Regions from separate parts of the Homo sapiens genome. Here all the other regions are linked to region 6. Evidence: promoter capture Hi-C in human tissues and cell types (Jung and others, 2019). All regions are on one chromosome and are shown on one strand. Each heading gives the region's core, a stretch centred on a gene start or on the middle of the fragment in contact. The rest is flanking DNA. Distances are from core to core; before and after follow the strand shown. Region 1 holds the start of ZNF878 (zinc finger protein 878). Region 2 has its middle 3.5 kb from the start of ZNF439. Region 3 holds the start of GNG14 (G protein subunit gamma 14). Region 4 has its middle 5.1 kb from the start of ZNF69. Region 5 overlaps ZNF700 (zinc finger protein 700). Region 6 holds the start of ZNF563 (zinc finger protein 563).

Region 1 (3,860 bases), core at 31-2,530, 280 kb after region 6:
CTCCACCTCCCGTGTTCTCGCCATTCTCCTGCCTCAGCCTCCCGAGTAGCTGGGACTACAGGCGCCCACCACCACGCCCGGCTAATTTTTTTTTTGTATTTTTAGTAGAGACGGGGTTTCACCGTATTAGCCAGGATGGTCTCGATCTCCTGACCTCGTGATCCGCCCACCTCGGTCTCCCAAAGTGCTGGGATTACAGGCGTGAGCCACTGCGCCCGGCCAGCGCCCGGCCATTTAAAAAAATTTTAAATAATAAAGACAGGGATCGGCGGGCGAGGTGGCTCACGCCTGTAATCCCAGCACTTTAGGAGGCCGAGGCGGGCGGATCACCTGAGGTCGTGAGTTCGAGACCAGCCTGACCAACATGGAGAAACCCCGTCTCTACTAAAAATACAAAATTAGCGGGGCGTGGTGGCGCATGTCTGTAATCCCAGCTATTTGGGAGGCTGGGGCAGGAGAATCGCTTGAACCTGGGAGGCGGAGGTTGCAGTGAGCCAAGATCTCGTGCCACTGTGCTCCAGCCTGGGCGACAGATCGAGACTGTCTAAAAAAAAAAAAAAAAAAGAAAGAAAGACAGGGATCTCGCTGTGTTGATGATGTTGGCCTCAAACTCCTTGCTTCAAGGGATCCTTCCGCCTCAGTTTGCCAATGTGGTGGGATTATAGACATGAGTCACCATGTGCTACCTCTCTTCAGATTTTAAAGGTGTCAAACTCTCAATAGCTTTTAGATCAGGGAAAGGAAAAGAACGGGGGAGCTGGCAGTGCTTCATTAACGGAGATTCTCTACAAATGTAAATTTCCCCCTCAAAAGACAGTTTTGCAAGGCCACCTTTTGTTTGCTGGCCAAGCAGCAGCCATTTCAAAACTGTCAAAGAAATATATTTTGGCAGGGCAATATCTTGGGGCAAAATATTTTAATGTCTTTCACATTTTGTGGACACTGAATCTGGAATTCCCTGCACACTTGTGTCCCGTGTAGGATGAAGGGGCAGGGACGGCCCACGGAGTGAGGAAGACAACAGTGTCCCTTCTAGCAGTTCGGAGCAAGTTTGGCCGAAGGCAAATATTCGAAGTAAAGGTGGGAGGGAGGGAGGGAGCTGACCTTGGAAAGTGTGGCCAGAACCAGTCGCTTCGGCTCTGCAGCGCCCAGTTACCCGGGGCTTCTGCTGTCACTCAGGGAAGGGGGCGGAGTCTAGACCCCTATCCAATCAGGGGCGCTAGGGCGGGGCCCTGCCACTGTCCTCCAGGGAAGGGGAGGTTGCATTCCCGCTCTCTTCACTCCTAGGGCTGCTCGCGCTAGTTAAGGTCTGGGGCTTTCTTGCTCCGAGAGGGACCAGTTACTTCCGCCGTAGCTGCTGTTGCTCTGTCGACTGCGCTGTGACCTGCACTGTTCACGGGACCTTTAGAGAGGACGCCAGAATACCTGGAAGCCAGGAAATGGTGAGCATGCGGTGCTGGGGAGTCCCAAGGCGAAAGGAGGGACTGGGTGGAACCGAGAGGAACCCGCTGTGGCGGGGCCCGGGCCCCCCTGCAGCGACTCTGGGCTCCAGACACAGTCCCCCTAGCGCAGCTCGGCCCTCGGTCCCCTCGGCCGCTGGGTGGAGCTGGGCCGGCAGCCGGGACCCCGGGCGTCCTGTCCGGTCCCTGCGCGGCGACTGCGGCCCCGGCCCCGGCTCCCTCTCTGAGCAGCTCCGCGCCCGCAGCCCCGCGTCTCCCCAGATTGTGCGGTGACCATGGAAGGGTCATGGGGGATCCTGCCTCGGGTGTGGGGTTCGTGTGGGAGGAGCTGTGGGCTGTGGGGTCCCCAGTTCCTTTTTTTTTCCAGTTAAAAATTAAACTGAGGCACTGTTAAAAAATGAGAGTTTATTTTAGCAAACAGCGATTAATGAATGAGAAACTCCCAGTCCTGGCTTGTGGTTTGGTAACGGAAAAACCCAAATCGTGTAGAATAAGTTTATTCTGAGCCGAATAGGAGAGACCTCGGCTGAGGGAAACACAACCCCGCGAAGTCTGGAGTAAGCAATCCCGAGGCAGCTCCTGACAGTTTGGTTTTATTCATTTCAGGGAGACAGGAATTGCAGGAAAATGATGAATCAGTGCCGGGAAGGTGTAAGTTCCTTTGGCCGAAAGGCGGGACACATGGAAGCGGGGTTAGAAGGCACAGGTGGTGGAGGGATTCTGTAGGTGGCAGTTGGTTGAGAGTGTGTAAAGCTTTGTCTAAAATTTGGAGGCTGTAGGAAGGAGGGCTGTTATCTGCCACGTTATTCCATCCCAGTCCCCGCCCCCTTCCCCAAAAGACCTGTTTTTATTTTACCAGATTTTTATATTTTTGAGACGGAGTCTCGCTCCGTCGCCCCAGGCTGAAGTGCTGTGGCGCCATCTCGGCTCACTGCAACCTCCGCCTCCCGGGTTCAAGCGATTCTCTTGCCTCAGCCTCCCGAGTAGCTGGGACTACAGGCGCCAGCCACCACGCCCGGCTAATTTTTGTATTTTTAGTAGAAACGGGTTTCACCATATTGGCCAGGCTGGTCTTGAACTCCTCCTGACTTTGTGATCCGCCCACTTCGGCCTCCCAAGGTACTGGGATTACAGGCGTGAGCCACTGCGCCCGGCCAATTTTTGTATTTTTAGTAGAGACGGGGTTTCATGATATTGGCCAGGCTGGTCTCGAACTCCTGACCTCGTGATCCACCCTCCTCGGCCTCCCAAAGTGCTGGGATTACAGTGGAATGCCCCACTGCACTCCAGCCATGGTGAAAGAATGAGACTGTCTCAAAAAAAAAAAGTTAAGCTCCTTCTTATATAGGCAAAAAACAAAGAAATTTAATTATCGCAACAATTAGTACAACTAAATTAATTGTACAATTAATTTAATACAACTAATTAGTACAACTAAATTAATTATACAATTTAGTTACAGGTTTTTTTGTTTGTTTGTTTGAGACGGAGTTTCGCTCTTGTTGCCGAGACTGGAGTGCAATGGCGCAATCTCGGCTCACTGCAACCTCCGCCTCCCCGGTTCAAGCGATTCTCCTGTATCAGATTACAGGCGTGAGCCACCGCGCCCGGCCCAGGACTTTAAAATTTTCTTTGCAAGGGGTTTTAATTTCTTTTCTTTTCTTTTTTTTTTTTTTTTTTTTTTTGAGACGGAGTCTCACTCTGTCACCCAGGCTGGAGTGCAGTGGCGCGATCTCTGCTCACTGCAAGCTCCGCCTCCCGGGTTCACGCCATTGTCCTGCCTCAGCCTCCCAAGTAGCTGGGACTACAGGCGCCCGCCACCGCGCCCGGCTAATTTTTTTGTATTTTTTAGTAGAGACGGGGTTTCACCGTGTTAGCCAGGATGGTCTCGATCTCCTGACCTCGTGATCCACCCACCTCGGCCTTCCAAAGTGCTGGGATTACAGGCGTGAGCCACCGCGCGCGGCCGGTTTTCATTTCTTTTCTTATTTAAAAAAGTGAATTTAACATTTCCAGCTTCAGAAGATGTGATGGCCATGAAGTCTTTGTGTAAGAAAAGTAAGAGGGAAGTTAGTCTATAATGAAATCAATCCTTAAGAGGGAAGGGGTCTTTCCTGACTTGCTTGTCATTTAAAATATTTTACAAAACAATATAGGTAAGAAAGAAAGCTAATCTGTAATCAGGGAATGGAAGGTTCCCTGGCTGGCTCTGTTACCGCTGCCTGTGAGGTGTCTCAACCCCAGAATGGCATTCCTTTAAACCTCAAGATAATTTAGAGTTCCAGCAGCTTAAATTTTTGAATCACCTATTTTCACATTCTGTACAGGTGAAACTTTTGGTTATGTAATCAGAGATTAATTGACCTATTGTGCCTGGTTAAGCCTAAATTTCATTTCCCT
Region 2 (3,745 bases), core at 328-2,827, 490 kb after region 6:
TGGGAGGCCGGGTGCCATGGCTTACACCTGCAATCCCAACATTTTAGGAGGCCAAAGTGGGAGGATCACTTGAAGCCCGAAGTTGAAGACCACCCTGAGCAGTGAAGTGAGACACTCCCATCTCCATAATTTTTTTTTTATTAGCCTGGAGAGGTGGTGTGTACCCTTAGTCTCAGCTACTCAGGAGCCTGAGGCAGGAGGATTACTCGAGCCCCAAAGTTTGAGGCTGCTGTGAGCTTTGATCAGGCTACTGTACTTCAGCAAGACACGGTCTCAAAAAAAAAAAAATCCCACCAAATTCCCTGGGGAAACCCTGACCCCCTTGGATGGTCTAATTGTAAAACACAGAGGGTGGTGACGTTTCCTTATGGACTGGATCATTCTAGCCATGTAAGAGGCTTGGACTACTGAGGATTTACCAGGCGGATGACCTCCTTGCTGTCAATGTAAAAGGCCCCTGGTGAAACCATCCCTTTAAACTTTATCAAATTCATCAGGGAGGAAGGGAGGAGGAAAACTTAAACCAAGCTGGCAGCACCTTCAGCATTAATCATTAAGTCAGCTTGTTCTCTGACCTTCCTCATATTTGTTTCATACCTAGTGTCCTAGAATCCCACAGACCCTAAATGATAGTTCCCGTTAACTGCTCTATAGACATCAACTTGAACATTAGATGTTCTCCCTTTGAATTTCCATTCGAAATATTTCCTTTTCAGGGCTGGGTGCATTGGTTCATGACTGTAATCTCAGCACTTTGGGAGGCTGAGGTTGGGGAATCACTTGAGCCTGGGCGTTCAAGAACAGCCTGGAAAATACAGTGAGACTCCATCTGTACAAAAAAATTTATAAACAATTGGGCATGGTGGCATGTGCCTTTATTCCCTGCTACTTGGGAGGCTGAGGCAGGAGGATCCCTTGATCCCAGGAGTTTCTGCAGTGAGCTATATGATCCCACCACTGCACTCCAGCCTGGGAAACAGAACCACACTATGTCTCTTAAAAAACAAAAAAGAAAAAAGAAATCCAGACATTTGTTGGTCTTTGGATTATTGGAGAGCATTTATCTGACACTTAGCCCAAAGTTTGATACCAATATATAGAATTATTAGAAAGGGGCACTTTGAGACTGGGACACAGCTCTGCAGGAAGCTTTCGACAGGTTAATGTGTTAGTATGCTGCCATACTAACTTCAGCAAGACCTGGTCTCAAAAAAAAAAAAAAATCCCACAAAACTCTCTGGGAAAACCCTGACAACCCTTGGATGGTCCAATTATAAAACACAGCAGGTAGTGATATTTCCCTATGGACTGGATCACAAGCCTCAGGCACACCTTTAGAGGGTAGAGCTGTGAGTTGGGATGATACAGCTGCTGCTGCAGGTACAAATTGGGCCTTATGGCAAACACAGTGTGGTAAATCAGTTCCTTTAGGATTTTGGTTGTAATTATGTCATAGAGATGAAACCAGACACTCTTGAAGTGAACAAGTGCTGGCAGTATATGATGCTCTCAAGTAGGTAGAATCCTTAAAAAAGAACCTTTCTATGACTGTGAGAATGGGATTACCATGCTCGGCTAATTTTTTGTATTTTTAGTAAAGACAGGGTTTCAACATGCTGTCCAGGCTGGTCTTGAACTCCTGAGCTCAAGTGATCCACCCGCCTCAGCCTCCCAAAGTGCTGGGATTACAGGTGTGAGCCACTGTGCCAGGCCTCCCACTAAGTTTCTTTCATTTGGCCTGGCACAGTTTCTCACGCCTTAATCTCAGCACTTTGGGTGAGCGAGGCGGGTAGATCGCTTGAGCCCAAAATCTTGGGCTATGACCACCCTGGGCAACATAGTAAGACCTAGTTTCTATTTACTTTTATTAAAAAAGAGAATATATATATATACACACACATATAAAAGAGGCCGAGCACAGTGGTTCACACCTGTAATCTTAGCGCTTTGGGAGGCCAAGGCAGGTGGATCACCTGAGGTCAAGAGTTCGAGACCAAGCTGGCCAACATGGTGAAACCCCGTCTGTAACTAACAAAACGAAAATTATCCAGGCGTGGTGGTGCACACCTGTAATCCAAGCTACTCGGGAGGCTGACGCAGGAGAATCACTTGAACCCAGGAGGCAGAAGTTGCAGTGACCCGATATCGTGCCATTGCACTCCAGCCTGGGCAACAAGAGCAAAAACTCCATTTCAAAAACAGAGAGAGAGAGAGAGAGAAAGGAAGTTTCTTTAACTCCCTAGTTGTTATGGGCTATCACTACTATCACCAGCAGTTGCCTATGAAGCAAAACCTATTCTCACAATGGGTCCAAGAGGAAAAGTAGAAGACTTGGAGACATTCCAGGTAGATCCAAATGCAGCACTTGTACGACAGTATATGGTTAATGTGAGGACTCTTGGGGTGACTTAGCTCAGGCTGGTATAACAAAATACCATGGACTCATACCATGGACTCAGTTTCTTAAACGGCAAACATTTGTTTCTCACAATTCTGGAGTGCGGGAAGTCCAAAATCTTGCTGCCAGCAATTTTGTTCCCAGTGAAGGCTATCTTCCTGGCTTACAGCTAGATGCCTTCTTGCTTTGTCCTCCCATGCTGGAGAAACAGAGAATTCTCTCTCTTCTTACTAATCCCATTATGAGGGCTCTCCTTTATAAATGTATGTGATCTCCTAAAAGGTCTGTGTCCAAATATGACCCTGTTGGGGTTTAGGGCTTGTAAGTATACATTTTATTTTAGAGACAGGGTCTCCCAGTGTGGCCCAGGCTGGTTTTAAACTCCTGGGCTCAAGGGATCCTCCTGCCTTGGCCTCCCAAAGTACTGGGATTACAGGCATGAACCACCGCACCCGGCCTCTAAGTACACATTTTGAGGAGAGTAAATGCAGGACACGCCAAGGGGTAAACAGAAGTCCATAAAAGAGGCTTTGGAAACAATGTAATCAGACAGTGTTGGAGGCTGAAAGAATGGGGGTCCTGATCAACTCAGTATACCACTGGAGGCTAATGAGCAAACAGCAAACTCTTCTCATGAATGCAGCTTGTTGGCAAACTGACAAACTACGTCTGCCACCCAGAAAGAATGCTGAGGGCAGTTACTCCCCAAGCGCAGTGTTTCTTGTGATTATCTACAGGCACATCTGAAGCCTGTTGTACAAAGAAAGTAATCATGTGAACCTGTGATAAATCAAGCAGCTGACCAACCATTACCTCCTCCTCCCTGCTCTTTCTACCCAATAAAAACAAAGGGCTATAGAAGCTCAGGGCCCTTGCTCACTAGAAGCAAGGAGCCCCCTGATCCCTTCTTTAACATAGATCTTTTGTCTTTATTTCTGCATCTGCCCTTCTTCATTCAGTCCCATAGTAACCATCACAAGACAGGACTTTATCACATAGCAGATGGAGAGCTAGAGTCAAAAAGGAGTGAGGTCCAATTTCAGAATGGCAGAGAGAATGGACATCGAGGTAGCTGTATGATTGCATGAAGGATCAAAATGCATGCCAGGGCCACTACATGGAAAATTATTGTAATGATCTAGGAAAAAAATGAGAATAAGAAAGAAAAACAAGTAGTCATAATGAAAATGGAAAACAGAAAATGAAAAACAGAATAACCTTTGTTAATATGTAGTTCTTAAAGATTTTAAATAAAATATTGGTCAGAAACATGTACGGATATCTTGTTTAAAACAAAAAAAAAAACCCTCATTGCTGAGTGTGGTGGCTCCTATTTGCAATCCCAGC
Region 3 (4,010 bases), core at 1,506-4,005, 350 kb before region 6:
CTGCGGGCCTGCATGGGAGTGACTGGGAGAGATAGCAAGTCTGGGCTGGGGGTGCATGTCAGCTGTTGCTGTGCATTTGAAGAGGGAGAGTCCTGAGGATCGTGGGCATCTGTGTCTATGATGTCACGTGTGTGTGTGATGTGTGACGCGTGTGGTGTATAGATTATGACTCAAATCCTGGCCATTTGTCTGCACGGTGGGAAAGGGTACCTGCTCAGGCTATCCCATGGGTGCTGGCGAGGGCAAGAGGGATGGCGTGCTCTCCGTCTGGGGCTCCAGGGTGTGTGTGTGCTGCTGTGGCTGTGACCCCGGGGGCAGGCAGGGAGGGAGGCTGGGCCAGGTACGCACCTGGCCCCTGCAAGCCCAAAGTCCCTCTGGTCTCCCATCTCAGCCCAGCTCAGCCATGCCCTGAGAAGTATTCACTTCATGTTTATTGAGGCCCCCTGGTTTGCCCAGGCCACAGGGTGGCATTGCCCTGGGTTCATAGGATGGCATAGGGCTTCTTCTCCTTGAAGGAGTTGGTGGCGGCCGGGATGCCCACAAGGAAGGGGTCATTCTTGGCCTGCTCCGTGCAGAACTTCAGCAGATCGGCGGCCATCTTTGGACACCTGCAGACCAACTGGTTCAGCCAGACCAGACCCAGGCATGCACCTGTCCCCTGGCCCATGTGTTCCCACCTCTTCCCGCCTCCTGCACTGGCCCCGACCCTCACCTTCACTTGGTCGATGCCTGCCTCCATCTGGAGCTGCTCCACTGCCCAGAGGGCCTGCCCAATGTCACTGTTGATGGCCACCTTGCTGGACATCTGGGTAAAGTGGGCAGGCCGTGGGCAGCAGGCCCAACCTCAGTCCCCTAGGGGGAGCCTAGGGCTGCCCGAGGGTTCCCACACCTCCTTCTATGTTCCTTGGGGGCTGCAGGATGAGGGTGGCTGCTCCTGGACCCATCAGGCCCACACACCTCGGCTAAGGGCTCCGGCCCAAGTCACCTCTGGCTGCCTGGTCCTCTGGTGGCCACCCTGCTGTGGCTCCCTCCCCAACCCAGCCTGTCCTCTTCAACCCCCTTTTCTCCCTCGGCTACCCCTGCAAAGACTTTGAAGCCAGGGCTCTCATGGAGTGAAATGTCACCAGCTGCAGCAGCAGCTGCTGCCTCGGCTGAGGGGGTCCCTGCCCCAGGAGGCCCTGTGGCTCCTCTGGTGTCATGTGTCACCTGGGTCCCTGTGGGCTAGGTGCCTTGGCTGGGGGAGTGAGGAGGCCCTGGCCTCCCCCTGGCCTGCTGGATCTCCTGCTAACTGTTCCCAACACATCTGCTTTGTCAGCCTCTGCCATCTCCAACATGCAGCCTTGCCTCTCCTCCTGTTGTCGCCACTGCTCAGGCTCAAATCTCCAATGCCTTCGTTCTTTTTTTTTTTTTTTTTTTTTTTTTTGAGAGAGAGTCTTGCTCTATCACCCATGTTGGAGTGCAGTGGTGCGATCTCAGCTCACTTTCAACCTCCACCTCCCGGGCTCAAGTGATTCTCCTGCCTCAGCCTCCTGAGTAGCTGGGATTACAGGCGTATGCTACCACACCCGGCTAATTTTTTTTTTTTTTTTTTTTTTGAGATGGTATTTCGCTCTTGTTGCCCAGGCTAGAGTGCAATAGCGTGATTTCGGCTCACTGCAACCTCCGCCTTCTGGGTTCAAGCGATTCTTCTGCCTCAGCCTCTCGAGTAGCTGGGATTACAGGCATGTGCCACCATGCTCGGCTAATTTTTTGTATTTTTAGTAGAGATGAGGTTTCACCATGTTGGTCAGGCTGGTCTTGAACTCCTGATCTCAGGTGATCCACTTGCCTCAGCCTCCCAAAGTGCTGGGATTACAGGCATGAGCCACTGCGCCCGGCCACACCTGGCTAATTTTTGTATTTTTAGTAGAGAAGGGGTTTCACCATGTTGGCCAGGCTGGTCTCGAACTCCTGACCTCAAGTGATCCACCTGCTTCGGCCTCCCAAAGTGCTGGGATTACAGGTGTGAGCCATCGTGCCTGGCCTTCTTTTCTTTTTTTAAGCCCAGGTTCTCGCTCTGTCGTCCAGGCTGGAGTGCAGTGGTACAATCATAGCTCACTGTAACTTCAAACTCCTGGGCTCAAGTGATCCTCTCAACTCAGCCTCCTGATTAGCTAGAATTATAGGCGTGAGCCACCGTGCCCTGCTAATTTATGTTTTTAACTTTTTGTAGAGATGGTTCTTACTATGTTGCCCAGGCTGGTCTTGAACTCCTGGCCTCAAACGATCCTCTTGCCTTGGCCTTCCAAAGGAATTATAGGCATAAGCCACTGAGCCCTGCCCCGAGATTCTAATATGTGCCCAGCACTGTGCAAAAACCCAAATTAGCAATGAAACAAGACAAAACCTTGCCCTCATGGAGCTGCCTTTCTAGTTAGGCAGGGATGGACAACAGAAAATGTACTCAGTGAAAGAGTATACATGTGAAAGGGCATATGAAAGAAGAATAAAATCAAAGTAAAGGGGAGAGGAGTGGTCAGGGCAGGCCTCTCAGAGGAGGTGACATTTGAACTTAGGCCCAAAGGAGGAGAAGGAACTGAGAAATGGGGTGTTCTAGGCAGAAGGAGCGGCAAGTACCTGACTCCTTGGACAAAAAAGAGCTTGGTGGGTTCCAGGAATAGCAAAGAGGTCTGTGTAGCTGGAGAGGAGAGAGGGAGGGAGGGCCAGCATGGTGGGAGATGGCAGCAGGGAGGTTGAGAGGTGCCCTTTAAGGCCACTGTGAAAAGCTTGGATTTTACTCCCAGGGGGAAGCTACCATTAGGAGGTTTTAACAGTGACATGTTTGATTTATGGTTAAAGAGCTGTGGCATGCACCTGTAGTCCCAGCTACTGGGGAGGCTGAAGTGGGAGGATCACTTGAGGCCAGGAGGTCGAAGCTGCAGTGAGGTGTGATTGTCCCACTGCACTCCAGCCCTGGTGACAGAGTGAGACCCTGCATCAAAAAAAAAAGCTCAGCGGCTGGGCACGGTGGCTCATGCCTGTAATCCCAGCACTTTGGGAGGCTGAGGTGGGCGGATCACGAGGTCAGGAGATCAAGACCATCCTGGCTAACATGGTGAAACCCCGTCTCTACTAAAAATACAAAAAATTAGCTGGGCGTGTGGCGGGCGCCTGTAGTCCCAGCTACTTGGGAGGCTGAGGCAGGAGACTGGCGTGAACCCGGGAGGTGGAGCTTGTAGTGAGCCGAAATCACACCACTACACTCCAGCCTGGGCGACAGAGCAAGACTCCGTCTCAAAAAAAAAAAAAAAAAAAAAAAAGCTCTCTGATTTTAGCTGTTAGGTGGGAGATGGGTTGGAGGATACCAAAGCCAGCTTGCAGGCTATGGGGATAAAGAAAACACCTGGATTTCGGACCTACTTTATAGGTAGAGGTTGGCAGACATGCTGAGAAGGATGGATGTGGGGTGTGAGAAAAGGGGAGACAGCAAGCTGCGCTCCTCATTTTTAATTTTTATTTATCTATTTTTGAGACGGAGTTTCGCTCTGTTGCCCAGGCTGGAGTGCAGTGGCACCATCTCAGCTCACTGCAACCTCCACCTCCCGGGTTCAAGTGATTCTCCTGCCTCAGCCTCCTGAGTAGCTGGGATTATGGGTGTGCGCCACCACACCCGGCTAATTTTTGTATTTTTTAGTAGAGACGGGGTTTCGCCATGTTGTCCAGGCTGGTCTCTAACTCCTAACCTCAGGTGATCTGCCCTCCTTGGCATCCCAAAGTGCTGGGATTACAGGTGTGAGCCACCGCGCCCAGCCCCAATCCCTATTTTTCAGTCTAGTGGATGAGTGGAGGGTGGGGCCGTTTGCTGAGATGCAGAAAGATCAGGGATAGGTGGAGAGGGAGCTGAGGGGGCAACTTTGAGGTCCAAGCGAGGATGTCAAGGAGGATGTCTGTCTCCTCCAACAAGGTAGGCTCATTCCAGCCTCACGGCTTTTGCTGTTCTGTCTTCCCATGTGCAGGAAATGGCCTCTCTG
Region 4 (3,807 bases), core at 158-2,657, 450 kb after region 6:
GAGAGAGAGCTTGGCATGATTTGTTGCCCCAGGCTGTGGAATTTTGGAAAAGAGCTACCATACAGCCTATGCCTGGTCGGCTGAAGGGCTATCCTAGTGGAAAGGAAACAGTCTGGGCCTCTAGTCTGCCATGCATACAAGCGTAACAATTGCTTTTGTTCAATGTGCGGACGGAATATTGAATCCATTCCAACCAGGTATTTACATCTTGATATCCTGTTTTAATTGCTAGGGTTTGTCTTAAATCTTTTACTTCTACAATATTTACTTTAGTAGTATCATTAGGTAGAAAACAGGTGGCAGTCTGATTAGAAGAAAGCTTAGAAGGAGAAGAGAAGGAAGGGGGTGAAGAGAATGAAGGATTAATAAAACGCATTTCGAAAGATCTTATGAGGTCTGTGCTGGCCAAGTTGGCTCCTGTTCCATAGAAGTGACTTAAAGTAGGTTTAGGGTCAGTAGAGGTGGAAATTTGTATGGGATTACATTGATTATACTGGCAATTGGGGAGGTGCTTTTTTTAGTGAAATGAATGTATGGTTTTAAGGATATACAGCCACCTGCTGATGAGGTCTAGCCTTGACATTTGGTTGTCCATAGGACATCATTCTAGCTATGACAGACTTGTTTTCTTATATTTGTTAAGGAACAAGAGTCTTGGTAGGGGGGGCCTTTCACCTTAAAGGGGCAGAGATACTTTTCTGAGGCTGAGACTTGTCTTTGACTTTGGAGATCTTTACAGGGTATGACTAGACATAGCATTAAACGTGATAACTTGGGGTGAGTTTGATTGAGTTACATTAATGACAAGGTGGTCAGCATTGGAAGGGGAAAAGAAGAAAGAGTAATAGAATAGATGTAAGAGGTTAAATTTTTCTTAGCTTTAGTTTGAGGGGGTTTTCCCCTGGAATAATGGCCTACGACTTTGGGGGTGGCGGTGCTTTCTTGACTCGGGTGTGATGGGTCTATCCTTTCTCTGCTGTCCAGACTGCAGTTTCAATGGTGGGAAGTACTAGGCCAGCTCCTCAGGCCGGTGTTGACGCACTGGGAACTCCAGGAGCCGCACCTGTACTGGAAAATTGTGAGTTTTGAGGGAAGAGAAAGTGGAAGATAAACCAAGTATGTAGGAATGTTGGCAGTGGATTGCTTTGAGAGGTAGTTTGGATTAATAGGAAGACAGAAGACATTTGAGTTATGGCAACTAAGTTTCTAGACTTGTTTGGCTAAGGATGTACATTTTCATACACATATAAACTTTAACTGTGCTATACATAGCTTGAGGTCTTTAATGGGTCCTCTAATTTAGGTGGGATAGGACTTCTTTCATAAGAGGTTTAAATAACATTTGAATTCCCTTCAGTGCCTACAGGAGAAACGGCAGCTGGTTCGGATTATCTGATTTGCTAGGTTATTTTCTTAACTCTTGAAAGATAGGATTTTTGGTGCCTGGGGACGTGGAAAATAGCTTTTTTTTTTTTTCTGGTAACTGAAGGTTATTTAACACTTGGGTTATTAACTCTTCATGAACAAGGCTTTGACCTTTATTATTGTCTGAAATTTTCTAAATGTATGAGCCACGATAAAGGTGTATTTAGAATCAATATAGATTAGTATAGATGGTTCCTTTGCAGTTACTTTAAAGCTTGACTAAGTGCAAACAGCTTACAAATTTGGGTAAACTATTAAACAATTTTTAAATTTTATTTCTCTAGGAACTTCTCTATTTATTATTGAACATCTGTTGAATCCTTTTTCCTTTAATCATTTTTGAAGGGGGTTTCTCTTAAGTTTGGCCGGACATTTGTATGGTAATCAGTTAAATCTAAACATGTGTGCTTCCTTTTTAGATTTGGATCTTTCGTTAAGAAACTTGTTAGGTTAAGCAAATTACTAGTAACATTAAACTATCATTTTTAACAGAATAGCCTCATATTTATACACATGTAATTCTTTTTTGGTGGTACATTTTAACATAGGTGACTTTAAAGAATCAGAGTTCTTTTCTGGTGGATATTTTCACTTTTAACACTGGCCTGACTATAATAAATGCTAGTGGATATATCCGCTGAAAGATTATCTACTTCTTGCTCAGGAAACTTAGCTGCGGGGATGCCAGGCTGCTTGGAGCCATCGCTGAAGCCCCGTATTACTTAGCCTCAGCAAAGTAAGGCAGATATCCTATAATGTAGTTTGCATGGGGCATAGGCTGGGGCCTGGCTCGCATGTCATGCAGAGCTGCCGTCAATACAGTGCCAGGACCTTGGACCAGCCAGTGGGCAGGAGCATGGGCTTTGCCGCTGCAGGGGTGCACTATGGGCCAGACAACGCTGACAACATGTTGCGGCAGATCCTTCATGTTGCTAGCCTGGCAAAAGCCATCTGGTGAATTAGGAGCTTGGAGTTCTTTAGGGGAGAGGGACTTAGGCTGGGGAAGAACAGACTTACTGGGCGATGCCTGAGGGGAAGGGTTGGGTATTAGGTGGGGAATGGTCTAGGGGATCTTGCGAGTTGTTCTTTTTGCTAGGATCCCCCAAGCCCCTTCCTTCACTGTCTTTTTCATTAAAGATGGTTCTATCTTAATAGGGCACATGTACAACTCATTTTCCTCCAAATATTAGTTTTTGACTTGCTCCTTTCAATCCTTGGAGGAGGGGAAAGGACAACTCCTTGCAACTAACATAGGGCATAATTTGTTTCTTCTCAGGAGGCAGGTCTTCTACTAGCAACATTTTCTATTAGAAGTTCACAAATCCATCCCTCATTCGACTTAAATTCTGGCCAGAAAACTAAGGGTTCAAGGATTCGTTCTTGAGTCTAAATGGAACAGCAATATTTTATCACTAATTGCTTTTTCTTATGTTTAGTCTTTTCATTATCTTTCTAATGTTTTAACATGAGACCTAGGGGACTATTAGGGGGGATATCTTTGTTGCTAACTTTGTCTTTTTTGCTTGTAATATTTCCTATACTGGGTCCTGGCTAGGCTCAATCCCTCGTGATAGGAATCTCTTGCCTAGGGGGGCTTGCTGTGGCTCAACCCCTCATATTAAGGATCTCTTGCCTATTTTGGGGGTTCCTTGTGGCTCAGCCTCTCAAATTAAGGATCTCTTGCCTATTTGGGGGGTTCCTTGTGGCTCAACCCCTCATATTAGGAGGTCTTTTGCCTATCCCTCACTGGAAGTGTGGCTAAGGCTCAATTCCACTATCCTTTAGCTCCACCTGCTGGAGGTTCCTTGCACCCTTCTTTCGCTTCATCCACTCTGGCCGCTTCCCTCGCAGGTTTGTTTCAGGTTCCTCTTAGCATTGATGGCAGGTCCGTATAAACCTGTGACAGGACCCCCGCAGGGCTGCCCTAAGCCGTGTGAGGTGACCACAGAACCGCAGATTGGACTCACTCGCTCCGCACAGCAGTAGTGCTTGTTACCATTCATGCACTTTCAACCCCCAGAATGCCCTGACACACCCCTCCGACTACCAAAGAATTACTTTGTTGCCCCTGCAACGTTTCCCACCTTGGTCTGTGCACAGAGTTTACCTGGTCGCTGCGGTATTGCAAGCCTCTCTTCCCCGCGTTGCTGAGAGTCCGGGTTTATTCGTCAAAATGGGTGGGTCTCGATCTCCTGTCCCTGAGGCCACCGCAATGGGGCAGTGGGACGCGTCTCCCCAGGGTAGGGTGACTGAAGAACTCTTCCAAAAGGAGCATGGGGATCTCGGACGATCCCCTAGAATTGTTGGATATAAAATGCTCCCGGAATAAAAGCTTGGTGCCGTGAAGTAAAACCAGCACTCAGGCAAAATTTTAATTCTCTC
Region 5 (3,444 bases), core at 612-3,111, 380 kb after region 6:
TAAAACCCTCCCATGAGAGGGTCCCACTGACTTTGTGAAGAGTTTTAGTCTTGGAAATACTCATGATATTCCCTATCTGTAGCTGTTTGTCTCAAGTTAGTTCAGAATAAACCACGAGTGTGTGGATTGCTAAAATAACTTATTTCTAAATGCTGCAAGTCAAAAATTGCAGATTTCCTTGTCTAACCAGATGCAGAAAAGCATATGTTATAAAGGATCAGGACTCCAACAGGAACCAACATCACTGCCTTCTAAAATTAGTGGCCTTCCTGGCATATGAACACCCTTTGGGCCTGTGCTCCAGTGTCTCTTTGGGTTGCTCCTTGGGCTCTTTGTGAAGGATCAAGACACCCCCGTAGTCTAGGCCAATGTCAGGCTCTCCAGTGTGTCCTGTTCATCACCCTCACCCTGCACTTCTATTGTTACTGTCTTTGGCTATTCCAACACTGTGCTTGCATCCTGTGGAAAGTCACATTTGGGGTCAAGTGGATGGTGGTGTTTCTACTCTTTGGTGAAAAGTATCAGGGTGCATTTGGCCTTCAAGGCAGAAGGATGAGACAGGGGTTAGATCCAGGTGCACCCAACTCTTTTTTAATTTTTTTTGTGTGTGTGTGATGGAGTCTCGCTCTGTTGATCAGGCTAGAGAGTGCAGTGGCGTGATCTCAGTTCAGTGTAACATCTGCCTCCCAGGCTCAAGTGATTCTCCTGTCTCAGCCTCCTGAGTAGCTGCGATTACAGGCACACACCACGATGCCCAGCTAATTTTTGTATTTTTAGTAGAGATGGGGTTTCACCATGTTGGCCAGGCTGGTCTTCAACTCCTGACCTCAAGTGATCCACCTGCCTCAGCCTCCCAAAGTGCTGGGATTACAGGTGTGAGCCACTGCACCTGGTCAGGTGCCCCCATCTCTGCCACTGCCCTGTCTTCCCTGCTGTGAGTCACTTTGTGTGATCTGACAATCAATGACTCCACCCTTCACTGATGAGGATGCATTATCTGAGACTGGGTATGTCATCTCCACACACAGATAGGGTTTGGTCAATGATTGATGCTGCATCCTTTGGTGCCTGGATTTTGACAGTGTTTTTTAAATAAGGGTTTCTGAAGAGCAGCTTCATTGGTACCTTAAGGGAAGTGACTGAATTGTTCTATGCCATTGCATAATATATAAAAGTTACTTTTCCACGTTGCTGTTAACTTTACACTGCTGAGATAAGCAGGCTGTTGACAAGTTAGCATCAACAGCACATTATCAGAGAAAGAAAGGCTTGTATTCAGACAATTTACACAACTGTATTAGCTTCCTATGACTTAGTAAAACAATTTGAAAAAATATAGCTTTATAAGGCATAAATGAATTTGTATGTTTTAACTAAGGTACTTTCTAGTAAACAGTGCCCATACATTTTAGGAAATATTTTAGTCTTTAGAGAATAAGTAAGGCAAAACCCGGTCCAAGAGTCTAGAGCTGACCTCCCCTCATCACAAGGCCAAGTCTTTTTTTTTGAGATGGAGTTTCACTCTTGTTGCCCATGCAGGAGTGCAATGGCGCCATCTTGGCTCACTGCAACCTCTGCCCTCCCCCGAGATTCAAGCGATTCTCCTGTCTCAGCCTCCTGACTAGCTAGGATTACAGGAGCATGCAACCACACCTGGCTAATTTTTGTAATTTTAGTAGAGATGGGGTTTCATCATATTGGTCAGGCTGGTCTCAAAGTATTGACCTCAGGTGATCCGCCTGCCTCAGCCTCCCAATGTGCTGTGATTACAGGCGTGAGCCACAGTGTCTGGCCAAGGCCAAGGCTTTTACCATTGGAGAGACACAAGTCACATACCGGGCATATGAGACGATGCTCCTCAGTGACCATGATGGATCAGGACAAAAAAAGAGAATATTTTATAACTATATTTCTAAATGTGATAAAAGAAAACATATTTCAAATCATAAACATGACCAAAATTTTTCTCTTCTTACTAATGTGACTTGTAATTCTCATACATCCCACAGTCATTTATGACTTGTGGTCATATTTACCACTACAGTATATTACACCCTTGCTGACAGCAGGTATGGCACTGGTGGTTTTGGGGAAGAAGGCACTCAGAGGTATATGAGATAACTTTTGGCATAATGAGTGAATGAAAAATTAGGGTTGAGGCCGGGCCCAGTGGCTCATGTCTGTAATCCCAGTACTTTAGGAAGCCGAGGTGGGCAGATCACGAGGTCCGGAGTTTGAGACCAGTCTGGCTAATATGGTGAAATCCCATCTCTACTAAAAAAATACGAATACTAGCTGGGTGAGGTGGGGCACGCCTGTAGTCCCAGCTACTCAGGAGGCTGAAGCAGGAGAATCACTTGAACCTAGGAGGCGGAGGTGGCAGTGAGCTGAGACTGCGCCACTGCACTCTATCCTGGGCGACAGAATGAGACTATCAGAAAAAAAAAAAACAAAAACCAGCAAAATTAGGGTTGAGATAAAAAATAAGTACATAAGCATGAAAAGTAAAATTTCTTTCTTTTTTTTTTTTTTTTTTGGAGATGGAGTCTTGCTCTGTTGCCAGGCTGGAGTGCAGTGGTGTGATCTCTGCTCACTGCAACCTCCGCCTCCCAGGTTCAAGCGATTCTCCTGCCTCAGCCTCCCGAGAAGCTGGGACTACCGGTGCGCGCCACCATGCCCAGCTAATTTTTGTATTTTTAGTAGAGACAGGGTTTCACCACGTTGGTCAGAATGGTCTTGATCTCTTCACCTCGTGATCCGCCTGCCTTGGCCTCCCAAAGTGCTGGGATTACAGGCGTGAGCCACTGTGCCCGGTGCAAAAAGTAAACTTTCCATGAGGAAAAAGATGCCTGGCATTTTATCCACATGGTAATACTGACTCACAATGTCCAAATAATAACAATGTAACATTATAAGCTTGATCTAATACATAAAACCAATGGGATATTTTATTATACCTTCTTATTTAAAAAGAATAACATGTTAGTATACTTATGATAATTGTTTACATTAATTATCTGTATTCAAAGAATCTTGGCAGATCTGAAGGCTTTCCCATACTGCTTACATTCATAGAGTTTCTCCCAAGTGTGAACCCTTCCATGCCGTTGAAGGTGCGAGGCACATCTGAAGGCTTTCCCACATTGCTTACATTCATAGGGTTTCACTCCAGTGTAAGTCCTTTCATGATATCAAACGGAACTAGAATACACTCATAGGGTTTCTCTCCCGTGTGAGTCCTTTCATGACATTGAAAAGAAGTAAAAGGAATGAAGGCTTTCCCACACTGCTTACATTGATAGGGTTTCTCCCCAGTGTGAGTCCTTTCATGATATCGAAAAGAACTGGAAAATGTGAAAGTTTTGCCACATTGCTTGCATTCATAGTGCTTCCTTCCAGTGTGAGTCTATTCATGTCCATAAAAGGAACCAGGCTAGCTGAATG
Region 6 (3,994 bases), core at 891-3,390:
TAACAGACTGAGTGGGGAAACCCAACAAGGCCTGTGTGTCTAGATTGTTCTTGGCCTTTCTGAGCATGCATTCCTTCCTTCTCAGTATGAGGCAGGACCCACTCTGAAATGGAGGGTCTTATGACCTACAGCAAGCTTGTCCAACCCATGGCCCAGGAAGGCTTTGGATGCAGCCCAACACAAATTCATGATCTTTCTTAAAACATTAGGAATTTTTGTTTTTGCTATATATTTTTAAGCTCATTAGCTATTGTTAGTGTTAGTGTATTTTATATGTGGCCCAAGACGATTCATCTTCTTCCAATGTGGCCCAGGGAAGCCCCAGGGCCACCCTGACCTGCAGTCAAACAAAGTTGGACAGTTAATTTGCTTATGGCCAGTTTTTACACAGAAAGGACAATGGAAAGTTAGAGTAGTATGTTTTGATTTTATGCCTGGATTTAGGGGAAAAGGGTTCTGGATTCTACGACCCACTTTGGAGAAGAGAGATTCTAGTTTCTAAGGCTAGCCTTGGATAGAAGAGTAGGACTAAGAGTCCCAAGAATGGGACTAAGTTTTTCCTCTGCCCTCTGTGGAGAAAAAACTTTTGCTTCTGAGGCTTCTTCCAAGGTCTTCTTTTTGGGGTATTGTTTTCTGAGCCCCAGCCACCTGGAGTGGGCAGCAGAGTTTGAACCAGTGACTCTACACCGAGCCCATTCTGAAGGCTGCAAAGGGAGAGAAATGGAGCCCCCTTTGGTGCTTCCTCAGCAGCCTGCGCACGCCTCCACGTAGCACGAAGCTGCACATAGAATCAGAATTTACCATTTATGTGTTAGGAAAATCTGGGTAAAGGGTTTATGAATTTGACAGTTTATGTAGGTCAGTACCTTAAAGTAACCTTTTTTTTTTTTTTTTTTTTTTTTTTGAGACCAGGTCTCACTCTGTCACCCAGGCTGGAATGCCGTGGCACGATCTCGGCTCACTGCAACCTCCGCCTCCCAGGTTCAAGTGATTCTCCTGCCTCAGCCTCCCGAGTAGCTGGGATTACAGGTGCCCGCCACCATGCCCAGCTAATTTTTGTATTTTTAGTAGAGATGTGGTTTCACCATGTTGGCCAGGCTGGTCTCCAACTGGTGACCTCAGGTGATTCACCCGCCTCGGCCTCCCAAAGTGCTGGGATTGCAGGCGTGAGCCACCGCCCCGGGCCCTTAAACTAACTTTACATGAAACTTTCCTGTTGGTGAAAATGCACATCTTGACGGTGGGGGCATTTCCACACTCTGCAGAGGGCACAGGGAAGTATGTTGAGCTCCCAGAGTCAAATCCTTCAGTGTCCCAGTCTCATCACCAGGTTTTGGTTCACTCTGGGGTTCCATTTCAACAGTTAAGAGTGGCTGCCAAGTTTGGGCATATGTTTAGCCTCCTGAATGGGACGTTTGCTGAAGTATGAGGGCAGCAGGCTGCTTATCTGCACTAGTTCAAGTTTTTGCTTTTTTTTTCCTGTTGTATTTTTGTTTTGATTCATTCATTCATTTATTGCTGCCGTGTGATTTCAGTTCTTCCACACATTTGATATTTTAATACCGTTCTTGACTTGTTTTTATTTCCTTGGCTGAAAATGAGCAGATTGAGAGGCAAGGTGAGAGAGGAAGGCTTAACCTTGCCGCCAAGAGTCTCATCCTCAAATCCTGATGCCCGGTGGACATCAGGCCACCCTCCTGCTGCAGTGTGGCCTGTGTGGCCTTGGGCTCCCCTCTGCTCTGAGGCCAGGGGAATGGCTCCACTGGACTGTGAGTCTGGGATTCCCTGCAAAACACTTGTGACTCCTTCTCCAGGAGGAAAAGGCAGTAAGGGCCTGCTGAGTACGGGCAGGTAATTCTGCATAAATGCAAATGTTCCCTGGGAGGGATCAGGACAGCACAGGGAGGAAGCCTGCCCTGTCAAGGGCTGTGCCTGGAACTCGTTCATCCCGCTCGACTCAGCACTGTGTGATCGCTTCTTCTGTCACTCAGTGCCCAGGGGGCGGGACCTGGAGCCCTATCCAATCAGAGCTATGGGGCGGGGTCGTGAGAACTGTCAATCAGGCGCACGGCTGGCAGTAGGGTGCCAGGTTCAAAGAGCCCGCGGCGTCTTCACGCCCCTGCGCTCAGCTCTAGACTCAGTCGCTCGCTGAGAGACGCCCTGGAACGTCTGTGTAGCCTCAGTCGCTGAGAGACGCCCTGGAACGTCTGTGGCAGCCTCTGTCACAGTGGGACCCGCACTGGCAGCGGGAGGCAGAGGGAGGACCCTGGAACATCCCGGAAGCCGGGAAATGGTGCGTGTGCAGGGTCAGGCGTCCCAAAAGTGGGAAAGAGCTGGTTGGAACCGTCCAGAACCGGCCGCGGCGAACGTGGGCCTCCCCCGCCGTCAGCTCCGGGGTCTGGGACCCGAGTCCCCCTGGCGCAGCTCGACCCTCGGTCCCCTCAGCCACAGAGTGAGGCTGAGCTGGCAGCCGGGACCCCGGGCGTCCTATCCGGTCCCTGCGCGGCAACTGCGGTCCCGGCCTCGGAGCCCTGTCTGGGCAGCTCCTCGCCCGCAGCCCCCCATCTCCCCAGGATTGGGGGAGGGTCACGGAAGGGTCATGGAGGGAATCCCCACTCGTGTGTGGGGTTCGTGCCTGTGAGGAGCTGTGATCTGTGGGATCCTCAGTCTCTGTTTTCTTCCTAAAGGGGACCGGTGTCCCTCTGAGTCTTCAAAGGTTTGGGAAGGCAGATGTCTAATGCTTATCTTGTCCCCTCACCCTAACTCCTGGGGCTGGCAGTAAATCCCTAGATTTCCAGATTTTGCCCTGCATTTCATAAAGCTGACTTCCTCTCCGTCACAGGGGAACGACTGCTATCTGGGCCGGTAACGCCGGGGTAAAATAATTTTTACTAAGACAGTTGTAGGTAAAGTTATTAGCGAAAGAAGCAAAATCCATCGCAAGGGAGGCCATGGGAAGCCTGCAGGAGAGAAGCAGAGGCTTGTGGGTGATTTTATAGAATGGAACTTGGGCTGATTGATAGTGCCAAGGCAGCAGAGTGCCAAGGCAGCAGGGAGCTTAACTTGCATTCCTCTGTCAGCCCCGGTGTTTGATAAATTGAGGCGTTTGATGGTGAGCAGGAAGTCTGTGAATTAAGTGCGTTATCTGGGCAAGAAGGCCATGTCTTGGGCCATAAAGAAAGTTAGACATGTACAGGAGTTCCAGACCAGCCTGGCCAAGATGGCGAAACCCCTTCTCTACTAAAAATACAAAAATTAGCCAGACGTGGTGTCACATGCCTGTAATCTCAGCTACTCGAGAGGCTGAGGCAGGAGAATCGCTTGAACCCATGAGGCGGAGGTTGCAGTGAACTGAGATCACGTCACTGCACTCCAGTCTGGGCCGGCGACAGAGAGAGACTCCGTCTCAAAAAAAAAAAAAAAAAGAAAAAAGAAAAAAAACAAAGTTAGACCCGTAACTTACCTGCATTCTCTTTTGTTTAAATTCTCTGCACATGAAGATAGGCAGATTTATAGCTTTTTTGTTTTATCTTTCTGCTTTCCCCTGTTCCCTTTAGCCTTTCCCTAATTAAGACTTTAATTTAACAGCCTTTTCCCCTGTTCCCCTTAGCCTTTTCCCTAATTAAGACTCTACACTGTCCTCAGTTCACAGCAACATAATGAACTCTTTGTCCCCCAGGCTGTATTTCAAACAAATACAGTATTTTAACTGTCATTTTTTTCCCCAGGTAGCAATATATGATTCTTTTTTAGAAGATATGATTTTTGTTTGTGAATATTTCATATGTGAGGATGCAGAGAATAACCACCTGTCAGGTGGTTTAACCACTCTGCTGTAAAAACCAACAAGAAAAATGTCTGCGCCTCTTCTCCTTTTATCTTCTCTGGGCACAGGCACCTTATCTGGAAGTGTTTGGGTTGAGGTTCCCCTTTGGAAACCACCAGCTGATGAGTCCTGAGCCCACACTATCTTTTCCTGGTACTGGCTTTGATA

The links. The method cuts DNA at HindIII sites, captures the fragments that hold promoters and counts their contacts. A contact is called where the count stands out against the background at its distance.
Region 1: the fragment with the promoter of ZNF878 here is called in contact with the fragment with the promoter of ZNF563 in region 6 in 1 of the 25 tissues and cell types used here (small bowel).
Region 2: a contact is called between a fragment that was not itself captured here and the fragment with the promoter of ZNF563 in region 6, in 2 of the 25 tissues and cell types used here (aorta and dorsolateral prefrontal cortex).
Region 3: a fragment that was not itself captured here is called in contact with the fragment with the promoter of ZNF563 in region 6 in 1 of the 25 tissues and cell types used here (spleen).
Region 4: a fragment that was not itself captured here is called in contact with the fragment with the promoter of ZNF563 in region 6 in 4 of the 25 tissues and cell types used here (bladder, dorsolateral prefrontal cortex, mesenchymal stem cells and 1 more).
Region 5: a contact is called between a fragment that was not itself captured here and the fragment with the promoter of ZNF563 in region 6, in 1 of the 25 tissues and cell types used here (mesenchymal stem cells).

Annotation. Positions count from the first base shown.
Region 1 is chr19:12,050,381-12,054,240 of GRCh38, reverse strand. It overlaps ZNF878 (zinc finger protein 878), which reads left to right and starts at 1,280. Exons shown (of 4, transcript NM_001080404.3): 1 at 1,280-1,442. The coding sequence starts at 1,440. RefSeq lists an enhancer at 941-1,446 and a silencer at 1,635-1,684. The HindIII fragment of the contact is 7,236 bases long and covers 1-3,860 here.
Region 2 is chr19:11,843,354-11,847,098 of GRCh38, reverse strand. No RefSeq gene overlaps it. Among named protein-coding and RNA genes, the nearest start is that of ZNF439, 3.5 kb to the left of the region's middle. The HindIII fragment of the contact is 5,747 bases long and covers 1-3,745 here.
Region 3 is chr19:12,684,844-12,688,853 of GRCh38, reverse strand. It overlaps GNG14 (G protein subunit gamma 14), which reads right to left and starts at 856. Exons shown (of 1, transcript NM_001316692.2): 1 at 432-856. The coding sequence starts at 805. The coding sequence ends at 482. The HindIII fragment of the contact is 4,816 bases long and covers 348-4,010 here.
Region 4 is chr19:11,880,807-11,884,613 of GRCh38, reverse strand. No RefSeq gene overlaps it. Among named protein-coding and RNA genes, the nearest start is that of ZNF69, 5.1 kb to the left of the region's middle. RefSeq lists an enhancer at 3,114-3,293. The HindIII fragment of the contact is 6,745 bases long and covers 1-3,807 here.
Region 5 is chr19:11,950,243-11,953,686 of GRCh38, reverse strand. It overlaps ZNF700 (zinc finger protein 700), which reads right to left. Exons shown (of 4, transcript NM_144566.3): 4 at 2,924-3,444. The coding sequence ends at 3,434. It also overlaps a transcript of ZNF69 not described here and the pseudogene VN2R21P. Among named protein-coding and RNA genes, the nearest start is that of ZNF763, 13 kb to the left of the region's middle. The HindIII fragment of the contact is 4,503 bases long and covers 1-3,444 here.
Region 6 is chr19:12,331,779-12,335,772 of GRCh38, reverse strand. It overlaps ZNF563 (zinc finger protein 563), which reads left to right and starts at 2,140. Exons shown (of 4, transcript NM_145276.3): 1 at 2,140-2,293. The coding sequence starts at 2,291. RefSeq lists a silencer at 1,907-2,046 and enhancers at 1,219-2,084, 2,187-2,446, 2,677-2,786, 3,964-3,994. The HindIII fragment of the contact is 22,494 bases long and covers 1-3,994 here.